Linked DNA regions of Homo sapiens: all the other regions are linked to region 4. Evidence: promoter capture Hi-C in 16 types of primary human blood cells and fetal thymus (Javierre and others, 2016). All regions are on one chromosome and are shown on one strand. The core of a region is centred on a gene start or on the middle of the fragment in contact, and the rest is flanking DNA. Distances in the headings are between cores, read along the strand shown.

What was found. The method cuts DNA at HindIII sites, captures the fragments that hold promoters and counts their contacts. A CHiCAGO score of 5 or more calls a contact.
Region 1: a fragment that was not itself captured here is called in contact with the fragment with the promoter of ZNF266 in region 4 in 1 of 17 cell types (megakaryocytes); the score reaches 5.0 in megakaryocytes.
Region 2: a fragment that was not itself captured here is called in contact with the fragment with the promoter of ZNF266 in region 4 in 1 of 17 cell types (fetal thymus); the score reaches 5.8 in fetal thymus.
Region 3: the fragment with the promoter of OR7D2 here is called in contact with the fragment with the promoter of ZNF266 in region 4 in 4 of 17 cell types (naive CD8 T cells, neutrophils, activated CD4 T cells and 1 more); the score reaches 6.7 in naive CD8 T cells.
Region 5: a fragment that was not itself captured here is called in contact with the fragment with the promoter of ZNF266 in region 4 in 2 of 17 cell types (non-activated CD4 T cells and activated CD4 T cells); the score reaches 5.2 in non-activated CD4 T cells.

What each region holds. Positions count from the first base shown.
Region 1 is chr19:9,130,203-9,132,907 of GRCh38, reverse strand. No RefSeq gene overlaps it. Among named protein-coding and RNA genes, the nearest start is that of OR7G3, 4.6 kb to the right of the region's middle. The HindIII fragment of the contact is 4,665 bases long and covers 1-2,705 here.
Region 2 is chr19:9,804,580-9,807,279 of GRCh38, reverse strand. No RefSeq gene overlaps it. Among named protein-coding and RNA genes, the nearest start is that of FBXL12, 13 kb to the left of the region's middle. The HindIII fragment of the contact is 2,919 bases long and covers 1-2,700 here.
Region 3 is chr19:9,177,632-9,180,473 of GRCh38, reverse strand. OR7D2 (olfactory receptor family 7 subfamily D member 2) reads right to left here and starts at 1,495. Exons shown (of 3, transcript NM_175883.4): 1 at 1,351-1,495. The HindIII fragment of the contact is 28,883 bases long and covers 1-2,842 here.
Region 4 is chr19:9,434,262-9,436,961 of GRCh38, reverse strand. ZNF266 (zinc finger protein 266) reads left to right here and starts at 1,389. Exons shown (of 11, transcript NM_001370374.1): 1 at 1,389-1,678; 2 at 1,769-1,854; 3 at 2,103-2,164. LOC105372269 (a long non-coding RNA gene) reads right to left here and starts at 1,321. Exons shown (of 3, transcript XR_007067133.1): 1 at 1,190-1,321. RefSeq lists an enhancer at 1,469-1,598. The HindIII fragment of the contact is 21,418 bases long and covers 1,085-2,700 here.
Region 5 is chr19:9,148,154-9,150,853 of GRCh38, reverse strand. All of the region lies in intron 1 of ZNF317 (zinc finger protein 317), which reads right to left. Among named protein-coding and RNA genes, the nearest start is that of ZNF317, 9.1 kb to the right of the region's middle. The HindIII fragment of the contact is 2,994 bases long and covers 1-2,700 here.

The DNA of each region.
Region 1 (2,705 bases), core at 85-2,584, 300 kb after region 4:
GGAGGCTGAGGCAGGAGAATCGCTTGAACCTGGGAGGCGGAGGTTGCAGTGAGCTGAGATCACGCCACTGCACTCCAGCCAGGGCGCAGAGTGAGACTTGGTTTGAAAAAAAAAAAAAAAAAAAAAAGCAATTTCTGACTCAGAGAAAGCTGGGATTCTGTCTAAGGAGGATTCCACCAGCTCCCTAGGGGTCCGATCCTAGGATCCAAGAATGAGATACCCTCGGGATAAGAGGAAATGTGGTTGGAAGAGAATGACATACAGCTTGTCCCTTGGGGTCAGAAAGTCAACCATCCAGGAATTCCCCCTTTGTGCTCACGTCTGACCTGTGCTCATTAAGGATTTGAGCTGCCTTAGGGGAAGAAATGACAGTACTGTACACATCTAGCTAATGAGCAGCTTTGAAAATTGAGCTCCTAGGGGCCACAGAGACTGCAAATAATCTACCGGTGACCACTCCACTCAACAGCCCCGCTCATGTTAGGAAACATCACACCTGAGTCTTGCTCCAGAGATGATCCCTCTTGCCCAAGAGTGGGTTGCCTTACTTGGTTCATCTGCCCTTCTTGGGGATAGATCTTCCATTTCATCTTACAATTCTCCAAGAAAAAAAATGGAGAATTCCTTACTGATGCCTTCAAGGTAATCTGAAATGCTCCCAATAAATGCTGTGAGAAACTGAACAAGTTTTTTATTTTATTTTTTCTCCCATCTTATCTGGAGGACAACCATAAAGTAAGAGACAATTCAGCAGAATTGTTATAAGTGAGATTCCAAACTAATCGGTGACCCTTTTCATGATATATTTACTTCCCCTGTTTTCTTACAATTTATAATCAGATTTCATTATTTTCAGCTCTCATTCTGTCTTCTAAATCCTAGGGACTCCTTCCCTACCTAAGTATGAATTAGTCCCTTCAAAAAGGAATCTGGCCAAGTGCGGTGGCTCACGCATGTAGTCCCAGCACTTTGGGAACCAAGGCGGATCAATCACCTGAGGTCAGGAGTTCAAGACCAGCCTGGCCAACATGGTGAAACCCCATCTCTACTAAAAATACAAAAATTTAGCCGGGCATGGTGGCATGCACCTGTAATCCCAGCTACTCAGGAGGCTGAGGCAGGAGAATCGCTTGAACCCGGGAGGCAGAGGTTGCAGTGAGCTGAGATGGCACCACTGCATTCCAGCCTGGTGACAGAGCAAGACTCTGTCTCATAAAACAAACAAATAAACAAAAGGAATCTACAGTTCTCTGGTTTTCCACATTCTTTTTTTTATTTTTTGAGAAGGAGTCTCGCTCTGTCACCAGGCTGGAGTGCAGTGGCTCCATCTCAGTTCACTGCAACCTCCGCCTCCTGGGTTCCAGCGATTCTCCTGCCTCAGCCTTTTGAGTAGCTGGGATTACAGGCGCCCACCACCATGCCTGGCTAACTTTTGTATTTTTAGTAGAGATGGGGTTTCACCAAGTTGGCCAGGATGGTCTTGATCTCTTGACCTCGTGATCCGCCCACTTTGGCCTCCCAAAGTGCTGGAATTACAGACATGAGCCACCATGCCTGGCCCCATGGTTTTCCTCATTCTTTTGACTGCAGATGGGGCTTTGATGAGATGTGTCTGGCTTTTCAATCTTCACCATGTCTGTTGCCAGATTTCACCCTTAAATAACTTGACTCTTGTCCCCATCTCTTGACAGTGAGAAACTCCAGAAGAGGAAGTTGAGACCCACTCACTTACATTTCCAGTCTTTCGGTTTCTCTTTTAAAACCCCAAAACAGGCCAGATGTGGTGGTTCATGCCTGTAATCCTAGCACTTTGGGCTTACAGGCATGGGCAACATAGCAACATAGCCTGGGCAACATAGCAAGAGCTCATCTCTGCAAAAAAAAAAAATTTTTTTTAATTTTAAAAATAGATTTAAAATACTAAATATAATAATAATAACAATAAAGTATAACACTTAAACATGAAGTCCTCTTGATTTGTTTTTATTCCTCTCCTTCCCTTCCTGGGGACCACCACTCTCTGAAATTGGTGGGCATTCACTATGCTTAGTTTAACACTATTATTACATGTAATAATAGTGCCATAATTTGTGTATCTATCCCCATACTGATGTTTGTTTAGCTTCTTTCTTTCTTACTTTATTTTGAGACAGGATCTCACTCTGTCACCCAGACTGGAGTACAGTGGCTCAATCACGGCTCACAACAACCTCGACCTCCTGAGCTCAGGTGATCCTCCTACCTCAGCCTCCTGAGTAGCTAGGACTATAGGTGCATGCCACCATGCCTGACTAGTTTTTGTATTTTTTGTAGAGATGGGGTTTCACCATGTTGCCCAGGCTGGTCTCTAACTCCTGGGCTGAAGTGATCTGCCTGCCTCTACCTCCCAAAATGCTAGGATTACAGGCGCGAGCCACTGCGCCTGGCTTTTTCTTTTTTCTTTTTCTTTTCTCTGAGACAGCATCTTGCTCTGTCACCCAGGCTAGATAGAGTACAGACACACAACCCAGGCTGGTCTCAAACTCCTGGGCTCAAGTGATCCTCCCACCTCGGCCTTCCAAAGTGCTGGGATTACAGGCTTGAGCCACTGTGTCAAGCCCAGTTCTTTCTTTTCTGTACCTTATTACACTAGGAGAACCCTCAGTGGGATTTTGAGCACATGCCTTCTTTGCTCAGCCCTAAGACATTCTTCTTCTTTTTTTTTT
Region 2 (2,700 bases), core at 39-2,538, 370 kb before region 4:
GCCTGCCTCAGCCTCCTGAGTACCTGGGATTACAGGCACATGCCACCACACCCAGCCAATTTTTATATTTTTAGGAGATGGGGTTTCACCATGTTGGCCAGGCTGGTCTCAAACTCCTGGCCTTAAGTGATCCGCCTGCTTTAGCGTCCCAAAGTGCTGGGATTACAGGTGTGAGCCGCTGCAACTGGCCAGCAGGCATTAATTTTGAAGCAGGTAAGTGTTTACAGGCAGTGCTAGCAGGTGGGGGAAGAAGGCCCTGATCTGTAGCATTTGCAGATTACTATGGTGTAAACACTGTCTCACCACAGCTGGTTTCAAGCTACCAACAGTTTAACAACTGGCTCACAAAATAGTTGAAGATTCAGCATTTGGCTCTCCTGAGCTGTGGCATACCACTGGTTACAGGTGTCTTCTTCCTGGGCTTACCCTATGGAGAATTCATTCTGCCTTAGTGACCTCTAACATGGGCCTTGCCCCAAGGGGTGATGGGGTGATGGGACATCAGACAGAGCTTCTCCCCTTTTGGAACCTCCCCACCCCTAATCATTGCCTTCTCCCAGATAAGGGGCTGGGGGCTTCAGGACTGCCCTCCAATGAAGGCAAAGCATAATCACAATAGCTGACATTATTATTTTATTTTTATTTATTTATTTTGAGACATGGTCTTACTCCATCACCCAAGCTGGAGTGCAGTGGTGTGACTGTAGCTCACTGCAGCCTCGAACTCCTGGGTTCAAGCAATCTTCCCACCTCATCCTCCCCAGCAGCTGGGAATACAGGCATGCACCACCACACCTGGCTAATTTTTAAAAAGAATTATTATTATTATTATTTTGTAAAGACGTGGTCTCACTGTGTTGCCCAGGTTGGTCTCAAACTGCTTGGCTCAAGCGATCCTCCTGCCTCAGCCTCCCGAAGTGGTGAGATTACAGGCGTGAGCCACCACACCCAGCCTACTGAGTGCTTCTTATGTGGCAGGCACTGTGCTCAGTCCTTCATGCATGGACTCCTATAAGCAGCCCACTGAGGGAGGTAGAGATGAAGACACTGAGGCACAGAGAAGTTAAGTTGCCCAAAGCAACATAGCTGGTAAAGTAGAACCTGAGTAATTTTACTCCACAATCTTGCCCAGGATATAAAGCTGCCATGCTGCCATGCAATAGTATCTGAAGGGAGGCCCAGTAACTGGGCCCTATTAGGGGCTGTGAAGGCAATCATGACTCCATCTTGGATGCCAACTGCCATCTTGACTTCTGCTTAACCCAAGTCCTGAGAACAACTCCAACATTTCTAGATTTTTTTTTTTTTTTGAGACGGAGTTTTTGTTTTTGTAGCCCAGGTTGGAGTGCAATGGTGCAATCTTAGCTCACTGCAACCTCTGCCCCCAAGGTTCAAGAGATTCCTGCCACAGCCTTCTGAGTAGCTGGGATTACAGGTGCCCACCACCATACCCAGCTAATTTTTTGTATTTAATAGAAATGGGGTATCACCATGTTGGTCAGGCTGGTCTCAAACTCCTGACCTCAGGTGATCCACCCACCTTGGCCTCCCAAAGTGCTGGGATTACAGGCATGAGCCACTGTGCCCCACCTACTTTTTTTTTTTTTTTTTTGAGACAGAGTCTTATTCTGTCCCTCAGGCTGGAGTGCACTGGCCCAATCTCGACTCACTGTAACCTCCCTCACCTGGGTTGAAGCAATCCTCCCACCTCAGCCTCCCAAGTAATTGAGACTACAGGTGCACACTACCATGCCTGGTGGTTTTTTGTTTTTTTTTGTTTTTTGTTTTAAGACATAGGGTTTCGTCATGTTGCCCAGGCTGGTCTTGAACTCTTGGGCTCAAGCCATCCGCCCACCTTGGCCTCCCAAAGTGCCGGGATTACAGGCATGAGCCACTGCACCCAGCCAGGATTTCTACTTTATTTACTGTTCTTGTGTAAGAACATATACTCGCCATAGATCCTGCCCTTGGACCAAAGCAGCCTTGATGTTATTGTATAAATTACAGGCTATGACACATATCACATTCTTACCTGTCTGGAGGGTTAACTTGGCCTACACATTCTTTAGGAAAAAAAGAAAAAATTTTTTTTCGAGACAGGGTCTTGCTTTGTTGCCCAGGCCAGAGCGCATCATGGCTCATCTCAGCCTTGACCTCCAGGGCTGTAGTGTTCCTTACCCTCTCAGCCACACAAGTACCTGGGACTATAGGCACATGCCACCATGCCCAGCTAATTTTTCTTTTTTTGTAGAGATGGGGTCTCACCATATTGCCCAGGCTGGTCTCAAAGTTTTGGGCTCAAGCGATCTGCCTGCCACAGCCTCCCAAAGTGCTGGGATTACAGGTGTGAACTACTCACCATGCCCAGCCCCTACAGCTTCACTGAGGTATAATTAACATGTAATAAATTGCACATATGGCCGAGCGCGGTGGCTCACGCCTGTAATCCCAACACTGGGAGGCAGAGGCAGGCGGATCACCTGAGGTCGGGAGTTCGAGACCAGCCTGACCAACATGGAGAAACCCCGTCTCTACTAAAAATACAAAATTAGCCGGACGTGGTGGCACATGTCTGTAATCCCAGCTACTCGGGAGGCTGAGGCAGGAGAATCGCCTGCACCTGGGAGGCGGAGGTTGCGGTGAGCCGAGTTCACACCATTGCACTCCAGCCTGGGCAACAAGAGCGAAACTCCATCTCAA
Region 3 (2,842 bases), core at 246-2,745, 260 kb after region 4:
GCAGAAAAAGAAACCATGGTTTTAACATAAGCTAAAATTCATTTAATAAAATGTAACAGCCTGGCTGGGTGCTGTGACTCCTGCCTGTAATCCCAGCACTTTGAGAGGCTAAGGCAGGAGAAATTCTTGAGGCCAGGAGTTTGAGACCAGCCTAGACAACAAAATGAGACACTTGCCTCTACAAAAATAGATTTTTAAAAAATTAGCTACTTGGGAGGCCAAGGCAGGAGGTTTGCTTGAGCCCAGAAAGACCCTGTCTCAAAAAAAAAAAAAGTCAACTTAAACACAATTAATTACAACTAATCAGTGTCATCAGCTTTCTTATGTATCTGCAAACAGCCATGAGAAAAAATAAGAGGAAAAAAAGTCCATTCACAATTGCAATGATAATATATGTAACATCTGGTGCAGAGTGAACATTTAATACATACTTGTTTTGTTTTGCTTTGCTTTGTTGATTTTTTTTTTTTTAGACGGAGTTTTGTTCTTGTTGCCCAGGCTGAAGTGCAATGGTGCAATCTCAGCTCACTGCAACCTCTGCCTCCCAGGTTCAAGAAATTCCCCTGCCTCAGCCTCCCAAATGGCTGGGACTACAGGCACACACCACCATGCCCGGCTAATTTTGTATTTTTAGTAGAGACAGGGTTTCACCATGTTGGCCAGGATGGTCTCGATCTCTTGACCTTGTGATCCACCCGCCTCGGCCTCCTAAAGTTCTGGGATTATAGGCATGAGCCACTGCACCCGGCCGAGAACTATTATATTATACTAGAGAAGAAAAAGGAAGGTGTTAGCAGGTAGACTGAAAGGAATCCACTCAAGGAAGTGCCAGTTCCTACTGACATTGAGAAAGTCACTAGTTTCCAGAATGAAAGGCCATCAGAGGTGGAGGTGACAGAAACAGTTGCAATAGAATCTTTTTTTTTTTTTGAGACAGCGTCTCACTCACTCTGTCACCCAGGCTGGAGTGCAGTGGCGTGATCTTGGCTCATGGCAACCTCTGTCTCCCGGGTTCAAGCCATTCTCCTGACTCAGGCTCCCGAGTAGCTGGGATTACAGGCATCCGCCACCATGCCCAGCTAATTTTTGTATTTTTAGATGAGATGGGGTTTCACCAAGTTGGCCAGGCTTGTCTTAGACTCCTGGCCTCAAGCGATCCGCCTGCCTCAGCCTCCCAAAAGTTGCAATGCCTTAAGACATCTATAACCAGGTAAGGGAATCCTAGAGACATTTTAAAAATCATGAGACATTATCAACCCTGTTACCTCCATCTCTGTTCCTCCCCACACTACTTTTTAAATCCTTTTCACACACGGTACTAACAAGGATAGTGTGAGTCACTCAACTGACATTGCTTGAAAAAAAAAAATGCTGGTATGACGTCTTCCTCCCCTGACTGTTGAATGCTGAAGACAGAATCTAGCAGGGAAAGGCGGGGAGATGGAACTTGTCATGAAGTCATCCTAACTCTCCTCTCTAAGATGCATGAGTGTGGCGTCAGGAAACTGTCCAGGTGAGGTGTTTTAGGGAAGTATTTATGGTTTCTCAAGCCCCAGGGAGCTGATGTCTCATCCTTCCTCATTAAATCCACTGTTCCAGTGATGTTCTACTCTCCAACCCATTCGGCTCCCTTGGGATCAAGAGCAAATGGCAGAAAGGTATGATGTGTTCTAATTCTGTTTCCAAGAAGGCAGCTCTGAAGCCAGGTGACTCTCTCTGCACCTCCCACCCTCTTGGGGCCTCTTTATTCTTGGAAGAGCTTTCATCACTATTGGTTTGGCTTTGAGATAAAGAGGTTTTCCCCTCTGGAATGTGTCGCAGAAGCTACAAAGACCCATCTCTCTGTAATCCCAGTGCCTAAGGGTCTCAAGGTAACACAGAAGAAAATAGAGATGCAACTATTTCCGTGAATCCCCTGTGATCGCGTTGGCTGCAGGGCGTTAAACAGGCTGTGGACATGTCGTAAGTCCTGTTTCAAGAGAGGGAGAGTCAACCATTGCGAGATACAGCAAGATTTCTCTTCAAACAGCCTGCTCAGCTTCTTATTCTCTAATTCCAAGTACCCCCCCCACACACTTTCTTCTCCTTTTCTTCTTTCTGATTTTGCTGCATGCCCAGATATGCCATAGCCCCAGCTCACATTTCTTTCCTTATTTAAGAATAGACTAGCTGTCTATTCCTCTGTAGAAGACCCCTTCCTCCTCTCCTCTGTCTCCCATCACACACCCACCTTATCTAAGACAGTTTAAATGTGTAACCAATCAAGTCTAGTTTAGATTGTGCTGTCCGACCCCAGCCAATGGGGAAAGGACACACAAAGTCAAGAGTCGCATTAAGAATAAAAGTTGCTACTCTCCTTTGTTCAGGGTGCTCTTGTAGCAGCCAACCCTACGAGAAGCACCCTTCTGCGCAGAAGTAAATTTGCTTTGCTGAGAAATCCTTTGTTTGAGTGCTCATTTTTCTTTATGACTCCAAGATTTATTTCTAACAACCATGTAAAACGATGCTATAAGGCTAAGCAAAATAAAGGCTGAAGAATATCCATCACATTTAATGGCATGGAAAACATTAGAAACAGCGATCTGGGTAGAGTGATGGGGAAAATTTCATTGATGGCAAGTTTGGGAGGAACTGAACAATAAGAAAAAAGTTTTTTTCAATTTTTAAAATGATGGTAAAATATACATAACATACAGTTCACCATCTTAACCATTTTAAGTGTACTATTCAGTGGCATTAAGTATATTCACAGCAGCCATCACTATCCTCCATATTCAGAATCTTCTCATCTCCCCAAGCTGAAACTCTGTCCCGTAACACTCATCCCTCATTCACCCTCCCC
Region 4 (2,700 bases), core at 140-2,639:
GTATACATAGGAATTTATAGTTTAATAAACATGGAATTTGAAATCAGTAAATCAAGGACAGTTTATCAATATGTGGTACTACAATAATTGGCCGTGTTTCTGGAGGAAAGAGATATTGTATCCACTATCCCACACCACATACTGAAACACATTCCATGAGTATGAAAGATTTCAATGTTTTTAAAGTAATATGCTGCAGAAGAAAATTAGGAAATCTATATGTAATCTAGAGTTTATGAAGACTTCTTAATGCAAGAGAGGAAACTTAAAAAAGAAAATCTTTTTGAGTTGAAAAATTAACTGCAAAATAGTTACCAGTTCAGTAGATTCACAAAATATTTGATAATGTACATGAACAGTTCTTCATGTTAGTAAAACAGTGTTCAAAATAACTTTATTAACTCCATAAAGGCCACCCACTACAAAGCACAGCAAAAACGATTTCTGGAGAAACTAGAATCACTCCTGCAGAAGTGAATGCCTGATATCAGTGCTATTTTACAACGCGGTATTTTACAACGAGGCCCTGGAACTCACTGTAAGATCTCAGAAAACAATATATTAGTCAAAGAAAAAAAAATCAACATTTACAAAAAGTATCAGCATATTGAATACACAAAGGAATCAACTATTAGAATTTAGCATGGCGTCCAGATAAATGAAATAAGGGGAAATATTGGCCTCAAGTTGAATTGGGCCCGGCGCCGTGGTGCACGCCTGTAATCCCAGCCTTTTGGGAGGCTGAGGCGGGATGATTGTTGGAGCCCAGGAGTTTGAGATCAGCCTGGGTAACATACCTCAACTCTGGGGGAAAAAAAATTAGCCGGGCATGGTGGCCTGCGCCTGTAGACCCAGCTACTCGGGAGGCTGAGGCGGGATGATGGCGTGAGCCCATGAGTTTCGCCCCACAGCACGCCAGCCTGGACTACACAGTGAGACCCTGTCTCAAACAAAAACAAAATAAAAAACTAAAACTAGATTGAATGAATGGAGGAGATAGGCCATATCATGGACTGGCAGGATTATCAAAGGAAGCATCATTTTGAGGGTGCTAGGAACGTGGGAGGAGGTGAGAATAAAAGCTTTTTGTGAGCATTGTGCACATCCTGTGGGGGAGCCCCCACCTCTAACTTTGCCAACACCACCGACCCCACCCTAGGTTAGCCCCGTCCGCAGGGCTGGTTCTAACCTCAGCCTTGTGCTCTGGGCCCCTTTTGGCCTCCATCCCTCAAGGTGAGCAGACTCCAAGGCCTCCAAGGCGTCTCCGTAGCCACTGGGGAGTAAACCAGAATCTCTCTGCCTGAGGTTGTTCAGCTCGGCTGAGGTTGCAGTTCCCGAGCGCTCCTCCAGGTTTGAGGCTGGAGGCGGAAGTGACGTCACGGAGCGCTGCTGTGTTTTCCGGCGCTTTCTCCGCGCCGCCAAACCCGTTTTCTTCCTGGTGGCGTTTGGGCTTAATACAGCTTTGGCGAGGTCGGATGACGGGTGGGAGCCAGCGGTGGAAGGGGTGGCGAAAGTACCGGTTTGCCCCAGGCCGCCGAGGGGCCTCCTTAGAGAGACCTTGCCTGCTCCGCTCGCGTCCGCCGGGGCCGCGCGGGTCCTCCTGGCGCCGCCAGGTTCAAAAAGCCACTCGAGTTGTCACTGCGACGGCCCTGGGCCAGGAGCCGTTTCGGGATCTGTCGTAAGGGCGCTTCCTCACGATTTTTGCAAACACGGTGATTGCCGCTTCAAACTCTTCCAAAGCAATTCTTTGTGACTTTTTTTTTTCCAGAAACAACGAGTTTTCGTCGTTCGAATCAGGTTGACTGGTCCTTCATCCCCCCAATCTCCCGTACCTGGCGAGTCCAGCTCGTCGCGGTGAGTACTGGGGTGAAAGTTGGTTTCGGGGGCTTCTTCCTCCTGTTTTATCTGAGAATTTGTTTTTCTCTTTGCGCATCCTGTATTTACTTTTGACACTCTACATTCAGGTAGAAACATAAAGCTATTTTTTAGGTATCTGGGGTGTGGTTATTTCTCTATGTGAATATAAACGTTTGTAGACCAGAAGTCTTTCTACTGAAGAAAAGCAAGAATACTCAGCTATTCTTTTTATCTGAACTTCCTAGGCCTGTACCTCCCCACAGAGCTTCAAAACGGGCTTTTAGGAAGAAGGAATGGAGGCTTTGAAGTAAGTTGAACATTGCAGGCGTGACACTTAAGGTTTAAATGCTTGGTAATACGTGTCCTGTGGATAAAGACATGTCCTTTTAAAACCATAATACTATTACCCCAGAAAATTTAAAATGTTGTTAATATGTACCCTGTGTAAAAAGGTACAGTTCTCCACTTTGTTCCAATATATGGTTTTGATTGTTTTGGGATCTATTACGTATCCAAGTTTCATGTCTTTTAGTCTCTTTAAAACTAGCAGACACTGTTTATCCGTTATATTGTCTTTTTGCGCAGTCACTCGTTCTTTCAGAAAGTTATACATTTTGGTAGTTCTGATTGTATTCTGTGCCGTGTTTAAATGTATCCTTCATTTATTGGTGTATCCTGTAAATGGATGAGTGTCTGAATGGTTAATTAAGGCATAGTAAAAAAATTCAGCCTAGGGCTGTTCTTAGGGAGGTTGTAAACTAGTGGAGGAGGCTGTCATGTAACCAAGCAAATAAGTGTATTACAAATTGATGAAGGTCTGTAAGTAAAGTAGAGGACAGAATT
Region 5 (2,700 bases), core at 12-2,511, 290 kb after region 4:
GGAGCCACATCTTGTTGCCTCTCAAAGTGACCTATGTCACCTGTACTGTCCCCTATGTGGGAACTCCTTGACACTACATCTTGACCCTTCCTTTGCCTGACCTCCTGACACATCATCTTGCTCACTATGAATCTATCTCCCTCTTCCTGGGAATGCCACTGCTCTTGCAGCCATAGCCCACTCATCCCAGTCTGTGCTCACATCTCTGGTTGCTCTTTTGAAGACTCTGGCTTGAGATCCCTCCTCTGCCCAGCCCCTAAAGGTCAGGGTTCCCCTGGGCCCCTCTCCCCCATCTCCCACAGGTCCACATTGTGAAACACCCCCACCATTTGGAGGTGCTGACACCCAGGTTCTGATTGCACTTCTGTGAAGGTCTCCCTGTCCCTGAGGCCTCAGTAGACTCCCCTTTAATGCAAGCCCACAGTTCTGCTCATTCCCCTCCCAAGAGTCAGTTCATCAAAACTCAGTTTTCTCATCTGGAAACTGAAGACTTTAACACTGGGTTATGTATGGAACTCTATAGGCTCAGTAAACAAACATTCACTCTAAAATGCCATTATCATTAAAATAAAATGACCACTGACGATTTCACAATTACTTAACAGAATTGTTCATTTATAGTGGGTGCCACTCTCCGCTCCCTGGCACCTGCCCCACCCAGAATGACTCAGAGTGAGTGGCAGCCAGGTGGCTACTTAGTATCCCTACTGCAACAGCCAACAGGATCCCACATTAAACACCTACAACTGTGCTGCCACCAGCCTCCCCACGTTGATGGCAGCTCCAGCCTCCCAGGGGCTCAAGTCAAAAGCCTTGCTCGTCATCACCTTCAACTCTCCTCTTTCTTTTCCATAAACCACACCTGCATCACCAGCAAATCCTGCCAGCCTTAACTTTAAAACTTAATACAAAAATCTGGTTGCTTCTCACCACCTACACTGCTACTGCCTTGGCATAAGGCATCGCTTCTCTTCTAGAACATTCCAACTGCTTCCTAACTGGTCTCCCAGCTGCTGTCCCTGACTTCCCTTAGCTTCCATGACAGCCGTAACTTTATGGGTAAAATGAAGATCACACCGCTCCTCTGTTCAAGATCCTCTGATGGTGTCCCATCTCACTCAGACCAAGGGCCCAGGTCCCTGCCGCCTCACCCACAACTCGCTCTGCCACTGGTCCCTCACCCAAGCCACAGAAGCCTCACTGCTGTGCATCAGGCCCCGCCAGCCATGCTCCCACCTCAGGGTCTGTGCACCTGCTGCTCCTCTGCTTGAAATGTTTCCCCCACATTCTCAGTGTGCCTGGCCCCCTCTCATCCTTCAGATCTTTATTCAACTTTACCTGTCCTGATCTGGCATTCACTGGCCACTCTTTTCTTTTCTTTTGAGATGGAGTCTCGCTCTGTCACCCAGGCTGGAGTGCAGTAGTGTGATCTCAGCTCACTGCAACCTGCGCCTCCCGGGTTCAAGTGATTCTCCCGCCTCAGGCTCCCAAGTAGCTGGGACTATAGGTGTGCCACTGTGTCCGGCTAATTTTTGTACTTTTAGTAGAGACAGGGTTTCACCATGTTGGCCAGGCTGGTCCTGAGCTCCTGACCTCAGCTGATCCACCCGCCTTGGCCACTTTTTAAAATGCAAACCCCTGCTTCTTTCAATCCCAATTCTCCACTCCTTTTCTTTTTCCCTAAAGCACTAATTTCCAAGTAATGTTCTGTGTAAGATTAGGCTCTATTTTTTACTGCAAAAACAGACAAACCCAAATCTCAATGACTCAATAAAATGGAAAGTTTACGCCTTGCTCATGTCACTTGTTCAACCCAGGCTGATGTCAAAAGTTTTCCTGTTGTTCAAGGATGCCACTTGTCTCTGAACCAACTGATACCCTTGGCCATGTTGGTCATAGATGATGAGCAGGAAGCTGGACAACTATGCATTCTGTCGTCTATATTTTGACCCTGAAGCACTTGCAGCCCATTGGCCAGAACTAGTCACATGCCCCTGCCAGCTCCAAGGATCCTGGGAAATGTAGGACAGGACACAGAACACCGGGTAAGCATTATTATCTCTCTGCTGTCTCCTCCATGCACACTATGTAGTTTACTTGTTTTGATTTCCTGTATGCCCAACTAGAAAATACATTCCAGGTGAGTAGAGACTTTTTACTTTGATGATATTTCATTCACCATTCCAGTGCCTGATATAAATAAGACAATAAGTAGGGAATGAAAGAATGAATGGATGATGAGCAAGCTGATCTACATTTGCCTTCATACTGAGACAGCCACCCAGACCTTGGGAGACCATAAAGGAGGGGCCTATGGAATGTAGGGGGTCTGGGATCTCCTCAGAAGGTCCTGTGAAATTAAACAGTAATCCAGGTACTAGGACACAGCCCTATGGCTTAGCCCAACACCCTGGGGCCAACATCCACCACCACCCTCCATGAAGGACAAAGTGTCCAGAGGGCTGGAGCTTAGAGAGCGCACCCACATCAATTCAGTCTGTGGAACCTTGTCGATGTTTTGCAACGATGCAAACCAGAGCTCAGAGTGGAGCTTCTGGCCAAGTTCTCACCTGAGTGATTCTATCACTTTCAGGGGTTGTCAGTGCTGGGTGATGGTGTATTAGTCCATTCTCGCACTGCTATAAAGAAATACCTGAGACTGGGTAATTTATAAGAAAAGAGGTTTAATTGGCTCACAGT